Linked DNA regions of Homo sapiens: all the other regions are linked to region 2. Evidence: promoter capture Hi-C in human tissues and cell types (Jung and others, 2019). All regions are on one chromosome and are shown on one strand. Each heading gives the region's core, a stretch centred on a gene start or on the middle of the fragment in contact. The rest is flanking DNA. Distances are from core to core; before and after follow the strand shown. Region 1 overlaps ELAC2 (elaC ribonuclease Z 2). Region 2 holds the start of ARHGAP44 (Rho GTPase activating protein 44). Region 3 overlaps ARHGAP44 (Rho GTPase activating protein 44).

The links. Contacts are between HindIII fragments. The study calls those that stand out against the background at their distance.
Region 1: a contact is called between a fragment that was not itself captured here and the fragment with the promoter of ARHGAP44 in region 2, in 1 of the 25 tissues and cell types used here (lymphoblastoid cells).
Region 3: a contact is called between a fragment that was not itself captured here and the fragment with the promoter of ARHGAP44 in region 2, in 2 of the 25 tissues and cell types used here (dorsolateral prefrontal cortex and lymphoblastoid cells).

What each region holds. Positions count from the first base shown.
Region 1 is chr17:13,004,100-13,007,040 of GRCh38, forward strand. ELAC2 (elaC ribonuclease Z 2) reads right to left here. Exons shown (of 24, transcript NM_018127.7): 9 at 1,822-1,880; 10 at 1,654-1,726; 11 at 890-1,002. Among named protein-coding and RNA genes, the nearest start is that of ELAC2, 12 kb to the right of the region's middle. The HindIII fragment of the contact is 8,331 bases long and covers 1-2,941 here.
Region 2 is chr17:12,788,059-12,790,758 of GRCh38, forward strand. It overlaps ARHGAP44 (Rho GTPase activating protein 44), which reads left to right and starts at 1,440. Exons shown (of 21, transcript NM_014859.6): 1 at 1,440-1,833. The coding sequence starts at 1,781. ARHGAP44-AS1 (ARHGAP44 and MYOCD antisense RNA 1) reads right to left here and starts at 2,226. Exons shown (of 2, transcript NR_104607.1): 1 at 2,085-2,226. RefSeq lists a silencer at 1,367-1,716. The HindIII fragment of the contact is 5,339 bases long and covers 1-2,700 here.
Region 3 is chr17:12,923,927-12,926,660 of GRCh38, forward strand. The region is part of intron 6 of ARHGAP44 (Rho GTPase activating protein 44); the gene reads left to right. Among named protein-coding and RNA genes, the nearest start is that of MIR1269B, 8.0 kb to the left of the region's middle. The HindIII fragment of the contact is 4,426 bases long and covers 1-2,734 here.

The DNA of each region.
Region 1 (2,941 bases), core at 300-2,799, 220 kb after region 2:
CCCTTTAAAAAGAAATATACACAGTAGCTATTTTTATCTATCCCAGCATCATCACACATCCACACATGGCTCTCAAATGACACCTGATTCATTGAAGAGGTTTTGCTGCCCAAAACTGGATTAAAATACAAAGCCGGGGCTACCAGCGCATCCAAATTCACCCACAGAGAATAAAGCAGACCATGAAACAACTCCTAACGCTCTGACTCGGAAGGGGTACAGCAGCCCAAAAGGATTTGTTGTGGTAAGTAGAAAAAAACAAGTGAAAAAATACAGATAGATACAAACTAGGAACAGGAAAAATACAGGTAAACCATTAAGAGTGGGGGAAAAGATTCAAACTCAGATAGGTGGGTCAAAGATGATTCCATCTGGAATGAAAGCTGAACCGCAAAACTGGTTAACTTCGATAGAGGACAACAACAGAGTGGCAGTTAGCCCAAAAGACATTCCCCAGCTGTGAGTCCATCCCATAACACGGACTCTTGACCACGACAGTCTCACACACTCTGACCCACCTCATTTGTTTCAATGCAGGTAATGGAAGAAAATTAATTCAGTTCAAAATAATCCAAATGATAATCTGGGGCATTAGTTAGAATTCAAAAAAGTTCTAGAATTTCTTCTGGTATAAGAGCTGTAAGAGTTCTAGTTGAATTTCTAGTCCTCAGTTGTTTCTAGTTTTCAATCTTTTCTAATTTCACTTTGAGGCTGTGTACACCGGAGCCCACCAACTACCAACAGTGACTTAAGGCAGGAGTGCCGGCCTCTGAACTGTAAACCCAGATAGTGGTCTTCCCAGAAACACAGCTCTTGCCACAAGATGCCCATGTCGATGCTGGGCTGGGTTTCAGCTCTCACTTCTCCCACCCTAGAGACCCCTCATTACCTCTGAAAGGTGGCATTCTCACAGATGGGTTGAATGAAGCTTTCATCTGGACATTCTACCACCACAAAAGCAGCACCAGGATCTGGAGGAGTACACAGCTCTTCAGCCAAAATCTGCAAAACCAAATAAGCCCGCCCACTGGGGGTCACAGCTCAGCCACCAAACTGAACTGCCTTCAAGGCAACTGCTAACATGACATATCCTATCCAGTGAGCTGAGAGGTAAACAAAGCACAAAACCAACTTTACACATCACCATCAACACCCTTCTGGTCTCTTTGTGGATACCTAAACAGGTAACTGTCAGGTTGAGGCACTTCAGGCCTACACTGGCCAGGAAAGGAGGCTTGGCATTAAGGTTTTCTTCAGTCTGTGGCCACTGGTCCTAATGTCCTCAGAAGTCAGAGGAAATATCTTGACATAGAATACTGTGGCATTCCTCTGGACCATAAACCCCAGGCCCATCCATATGGGGTCTGTTGTTAGACACTGTCCTGAGCTCAAGTACCAAGGAAAGCATGCACCCTTTAAGGAGGACGGTGACTAGATCCTAAATGGACAATCTACAAAAATGCTCGAATGCAGCCGTGTTGACATGCGGGACAAACACAGATAAAAGAGGCCATTTTATCACTTAGCTGAGTGATGTCCAAACTGTTCCACGTCCTTCAAAAGTGGTGTCTGTAGGGCCTGAAGAAGACAGACTCTGCCCAGCATTTCAGACCCTACCTGTAACTGCTGAATCAAGAAAACCAGGCATCTCACCTCTCTTCCTTCATGAGTGATGCTTTTCCCGTCCTTGACAGCAGCAATGATGGGAGCGATGGCAGCTGTCCCACTGAAATGAAGAGGCAAGGCCTCTGTGAAATGTGATTTCCTTAAGTGGACAGGTGTACCCAGTGAGTCCCCAGAAGCCTTACCCCCCACACTCACACTGGGAGGCCCATCTCCTTTGCTTTGAGCACCAAGAAGTTTCCTCTCTTTAAGTGAAGCTGCAACAAAGAGAACATAGATGTGATCTTAGGGGCTAATGAAGAAGGTTGGTTTTAATCAATTTTCTTAGAAGTGTATTTTTCTAGATTAAAAAAAAATAATAATGTTGGCCAGGCACGGTGGCTCACGCCTGTAATTCCAGTACTTTCGGAGGCTGAGGCGGGCAGATCACCTGAGGTCAGGAGTTTGAGACCAGCCTGACCAACGTGGAGAAACCCCGTCTCTACTAAAAATACAAAATTGGCCAGGCGTGGTGGCACGTGCCTGTAATCCCAGCAACTCAGGAAGCTGAGGCAGGAGAATCGCTTGAACCCAGAGGCGGATGTTGCAGTGAGCCGAGATCGCGCCATTGCACTCCAGCCTAGGCAACAAAAGCGAAAGTCTGTCTCAAAAAAAAAAATAAAAAATAAAATGATGTTGTTTCCTTACAATTCATTAAAATGCGTTTATTGCTTTCAGAAGGTATACCATATTCTGAAGAAGTCATTTATTGTCAAATGCTTTAGTACTAAAAGCCAAAATGACTTAAATCAGTGTTTTATTTCCCAGCATTAACTCATTATAAATTTAATAAAATGTAATTCAATATGAAAGTTAATAAATATCCTTCAAGTATCATTGAGGAGAAACACTGTTCTGTCATTCTACATTCCTCAATTAATAGCTAAAGGAATGTCACCAGAGCGTTGCCTAACAGAGCAACCAGCAAGCAAACTGCCATGTAACATAATATTTCAATGACAGTGATAGGCTAACAAAAGCATGGATGATTTTTATTTCTCTTGTATTTTTCAATTATGTGGCAATATAATGTCACTGCTTTTATCTTGGAGATAAATTATAATAAAAAATCTCTAATAGCCAGGCACAGCGGCTCATGCCTGTAATCCCAGCACTTTGGGAAGCCGAGGCGGGTAGATCATGAGGTCAGGAGATCAAGACCACCCTGGCTAAGACGGTGAATCCCTGTCACTACTAAAAATACAAAAAATTAGCCGGGTGTGGTGACGTGCGCCTGTAGTCCCAGCTACTCGGGAGGCTGAGGCAGGAACCCAGGAGG
Region 2 (2,700 bases), core at 190-2,689:
TATCCTATTTCAAAGAAGATCCTTCCTTTATAAGATTAGTAATTCTGTTGTATGAACAGGATTTTTCTCTATTATGCTAAATATAATCATTTTGTAGTAAATGAATACGGCAATGTACTATATGAAAATTTATATGTAATTTGATTATTGTAATTTAACAAATAGTTCTCTTACTGAAGATCAGGCAGCATATTTTTCTATTTAGGGATGAGGAAACAGAGGTTTGGAGAGGTTAAGCTGTTTTCCTAAGGTTATATAACAGGTATGTGGAATTCTGATGCAGGAACTCCTATCTGTTTAATCCAAAGTGCCTCACACCCAACAATACTGCTTTTACTTGATATATAATGATAAAACCTTGATATATAATGATAAAACCTAACTGCAATCACCAATCTTTTTCTTTTTTTTCTTTTCTTTTTTTTTTGTTTTTTGAGATGGAGTCTAGCTCTGTCACCCAGGCTGGCGTGCAATGGCGCGATCTCCACTCACTGCAACCTCCACCTCCCAGGTTCAAGCTATTCTCCTGCCTCAGCCTCCCAAGTAGCTGGGATTACAGGTGCCCGCCACCACGCCCAGCTAATTTTTGTATTTTTAGCAGAGACAGGGTTTCACTGTGTTGGCCAGGCTGGTGTCGAACTCCTGACCTCGTGATCCACCCTCCTTGGCCTCCCAAACTGTTGGGATTACAAGCGTGAGCCACCGCGCCCGGCTCACCTATCTTTTTCTAAGGATAGAGACCAAAGAAGCCACAACCCCTTCCAAGGAGTCAACTGACGCCAATGGGATGCTGTGGTGCAGGACACTTGGGGGGTGCTGCAGCTGATGCCCCTTGGTCTCCTGGTGGTGGAAGGGAAATGGGACTAGATACGAGATTGGCATCTAAGCCATACAAAAAAGCTGTCTCAGACAGGTTGGGCCAGTAAGCACAACGTCACTTATCTATATTGGCTTCTGGTTACCTAATGGGTTTGGTTTGGTAAAAATTAAGAATCAGACTTCTGGGATGCAAGCTATGCCTGTTCAAAATCTGCTGTCAGCCCCTGTGTTTCAAGCTTAACCTTGAACCTCATCATTAATCAGGTGACCTTAGACCGTTTTATCAGCCACGTATCTGCTAGCATAAATCTCCCTTCTGTGAATTCAGAACACTGATACCTCACATTCACTAAAAATACAATGAGAGACAGATGCTCACTTTCTTTATTTGCTGTTGTATTCTTGGTCCCACTTTGCCATTTTTAAAACAGGAAAACGTTTCCCTTACTCGAACGCTAAAGTGCAAAGCTGCTGGTGACGCTGCCTTCTCCCACCTCCGCACTCCACTGTCCTTGCAAACTTTGGACAGAGGAAAGGTGGGCACGGGGCGCGAAACTACAAGTCCCGGCATGCACGGCGTTCTCCGCACAGGCGCACGGGGACCGCCGGGCCAGCCGGCCAGCCAGCCTGCGGAGACTCCCGGGTCCCCGCGCCGGACTGGGACTGGGAGCAGGCAGCCCGGGCGGAGCGGGCCGGTGCCGAGGACGGCCCCAGGCATTGCTCTGCCCCGGGCATTGCGCGGCGCGCGTGAGGGGGATGCGGCAGGAGGCGGCGCGGCGGGAGGAGTAGGCGGCGGCGCCCTCGGGAGGGAGCTGCGCGCGGGCCAGACGGCGCCCGGAGGCTCCGCAGTGCCGCCGCCGTCGCCCGGGAGGCTCCGCGCGGGAGCCATGTAACCCTGCGGCGGGCTCCGGGCTGCTCCGTCCTTCCCCAGCTCCCGGGCTAGCGCGGCAGCGGGGCCACGATGAAGAAGCAGTTCAATCGCATGCGCCAGCTGGCCAACCAGACGGTGGGCAGGTAGGTCACCCGCGGGCACCGCTGTCGGTGCGCGCCCGCGAGGCTGCATCCGCAGGGGCGCGCAGGTGATGGAGCCCGCCCAGCCTCCAGTCCTCCTTGCCTCAGTCCTTTCCCCTGCACCAGCTCCCTCCAGGCGCCGCTCGCAGGCGCGACCCCTCCTCCCTAACTTCCCAGACCCCGGAGCTCTTCTCACTCGCCGCCTTCTGCTCCGGGCTCCGGTTGCCAAGCGCAAAGTGTGACGCATCCTTTACCTGCGTCCCCGGCTGCCCCTTCGCTTCGTCCTCCCTGCCTTTCCCCGGGACTCCCTTCTCCCTCTGGCCGCCTGTCTTCCTGGAAACAGGTGTTTGCTCTGATTGTGCTGGAGGCAGCCGAACCGCAGTCGGTCTCCGGAGATCTCTTCCCTCCCCTCCCCTGCGCCGAGTTCAGGGCTGCTCCCGGGTCCAGGGAAAGTGCTGGGCCTGGTCGGCCTGCCCCTCCCGCCGTGTTTGTTTTCAGGGACTATGACTGTACGAGATTCTGGATCACTTTCCTGGCCGGGTTTCTTAAGGCGTTTGGTGGGGGGAAAGGGTGAGGGGTGGGAGAGGAAGGAAGGTGCTGGTGGAATGGCGTTGCTGCCTGCTTGATGTTAGGACTGATTTCAGTGGAGGGAGGGAGGCTGCAAAAAGGAGGCCCAAGTCCTCGGGAAGATGAGATAAGCAGAGAATCGCAGCCAGGTAGGGGAGGGGGACAGAGGCCCCACAGTCAGAAGAGTCAGGCCCCGGGAAGCTGCAAGACCCCGCCTGCTGCCATCACGGTGAAAATGGGCTACATCTGGACTCCAGGAGCGGCTCTGCAGGGTGCCAACATCTATTAAGGTTACATAAAAAT
Region 3 (2,734 bases), core at 83-2,582, 140 kb after region 2:
TTCTGAATGCTCCCCCCCTACCCCCTGCATTTCTCCATAAAGCCAATGGCACAGGTTAGTTTTTCTTCCTTGCAGCATCCTACTTCTGATTTATTTCATATTGTTCTGTCCTTCATGAAGTATGCTCTGCAGCACTGCAACAGTGAATTCCACATAGAGACCCTCCGCCTTTCAAGACAGGAAGTAGATTTGTATATATTATCAGCACATCTTGAACAATAGTCCCATGACTGGATCTTTAATTTCTGCCACAATTCTGATGGATACTGTCAAATCCAATTAATTTATCTCGTGTTTAATTAGATCCCAATAAGATGTGTATGTTTGTCACTATTGAAGTAAATCTGGCTTGTCTGCTTCAAAAGCCAATGATACAGACCTCAATATTCTCAGAGAAACTGATGCTTACAGGACGCTTTATGCTGAATTAAAGGTTGTGAATTGAATTGAATGATACGCAAATTTCTTTTTTGTGTGTGATAGGTTTGGTTTAGCAGTGCTTAAAGAAGGAGCCTAATTTTTCTCCAAAGTCAGCCTGACTTTTTTCTGGTCATGTAGCTCAAGGTTAACCCTCCCGAGTCTGGGACACATACACATTCCATTTCTGCCGAACCAGCTGCCTCTGGGTCCTAGGGACTGAATGGTATCTCTCCAAAATTTGTATATTGAAGCGCTAACCCCCAATGCGACTGTATCTGGAGATAGGTTCTTTAGGAGAACCTTATTAAGGTTAAATGAGGTCATAAGAATGGGCCCCTATTTCACTAGGATTGGTGGCCTTATAGGGAGAAAGAGTGATCTCTCTCTCTACACGCACTCAGAGGAAAGCTGTGTGAGGACAGAAACAGCAGCCATCTGCAAGTCACAGATAGAGGTCTCCAGCCTCTGTCTTGATCTTGGATGTCCAGCCTCCAGAATTGTGAGAAGATAAGCCTCTGTTGTTTAAGCCACCCAGTCTGTGGTACTTTGTTATGGAAGCCCTACCTTCTTTGGAAGCAAGTGAACTAGTGTAAGTAAGACAGGAGGGTTTTGGAGTGGAAACTGTGCAGGCTATGGAGTTAAGAAGTGGAATTCTGGAGGCGGGGCAGTGTGAAGTCTTGTTAGAACTGGCAGTGGAGTCTCGATGGCCATCAAAACTCATTCCTCGTCTCTCACCCCTCCCCATACAGGTGTCTTTTTCTCACATCTGATTTCTTCAAGGTCACTGGATGTCGCATGGGCTCATGTCTCCCCACTATGAGCCCTCTTCCTTTTGCCCCAATTCCGAAAGTGCCAAAGAGGGACTCCATTTGTCTGGACTTTGCTCATATGCCCACTTCCATGACTCGTCAGTTGGGTCAGTGTGAGGAAGGATGGCACAGGCTTGACTTGGATCAGAGGCCCTCACCTGGGCCACTCACTGCCTGGGTCATGCAGAACCTGGCAGTCCCCTTTTTGACCACACATTACTGCAGAGTGGAAGCAGGAACTTAAAAAGTGGGGGATGCCCATGGCAGAGGAAGGGGCAAGACTAGACAGAAGGAACAGTGAATGCCCCAATGAAGACACTCTCCTGTCTGCCTTTTAAAATTCTTCTTCTGGACATTCTGTTGTCCTGAACTGACCTGCATTTGCCTTCTTTACATATTCCTGGTACCTGAAATTTTAAACCCTTATTCCTCTCCCTTCTCTCTCATCTCTCCCAAGGCTTCATTAAAGCTTGTGTCCCATCTTCATCTCCCCCAGATCACATAGTCACAAGTCCTCTTTCCCCAGAGAAGGATGGTGGTACATCAGCTACTTTAGTGAGAAGAAATGATCCTTCTGCTCTTCAACTTTCAAAGCTCAAAGTTTCCTTGGACAATGTCTAGTGTTCCTGTTTCTCCTCTGACAGAGCAGCCCAACTCTTGAGTTTATGTGTAGAACAGAGGTCTGAAAAGACTACCAAACCTTGAAATTCATAATTCGTGTTACTTTTCCCAAAATGACTATCTGTACAAAATTTTCCCAACATGACTATCTGTACAAAATTCATGTCACCTTTTCCAGCATGAGTATCTGTACAAAACTCGTCTGTTCACATGACAAGAGTTTACCTTGGTATTTTGTTTGCTATTTATGTTCCACAAAGAGAACATATTTTGGACATCTTGTCACTGTTTTAAAATATCAAAATAGACCAGGCACGGTGGCTCACGCCTATAATCCCAGCACTTTGGGAGGCGAATGAGGGTGGATGGCCTGAGGTCAGGAGTTCAAGACTAACCTGACCAACATGGCGAAACCCCGTCTCTACTAAAAATACAAAAATTAGCTGGGCATGGTGGCATGTGCCTGTAATCCCAGCTACTCGGGAGGCTGAGGCAGAAGAATCGCTTGAACCCAGGAGGTGGAAGTTGCAGTGAGCTGAGATTGCACCACTGCACTCCAGCCTGGGTGACAGAGCGAGACTTGATATGAAAAAAAAATTATATATGTATTATATATAATATATATTGTATATATATAATATATATGTATATATAATATATATGTATATACATAATATATATACATATATAATATATATAATATATATGTATGTATAATATATGTATATATATTATATATGCATATATATTATACATACATATATATTATATATATAACATTGTAAATTGTAAATAAAATTTCTTATAAAAAGGGGAAATGTATATGTTTTTAAAGCATCAAGATACTGACTACAGGATAAAATCTGGAGGAAAAAATAGATGAG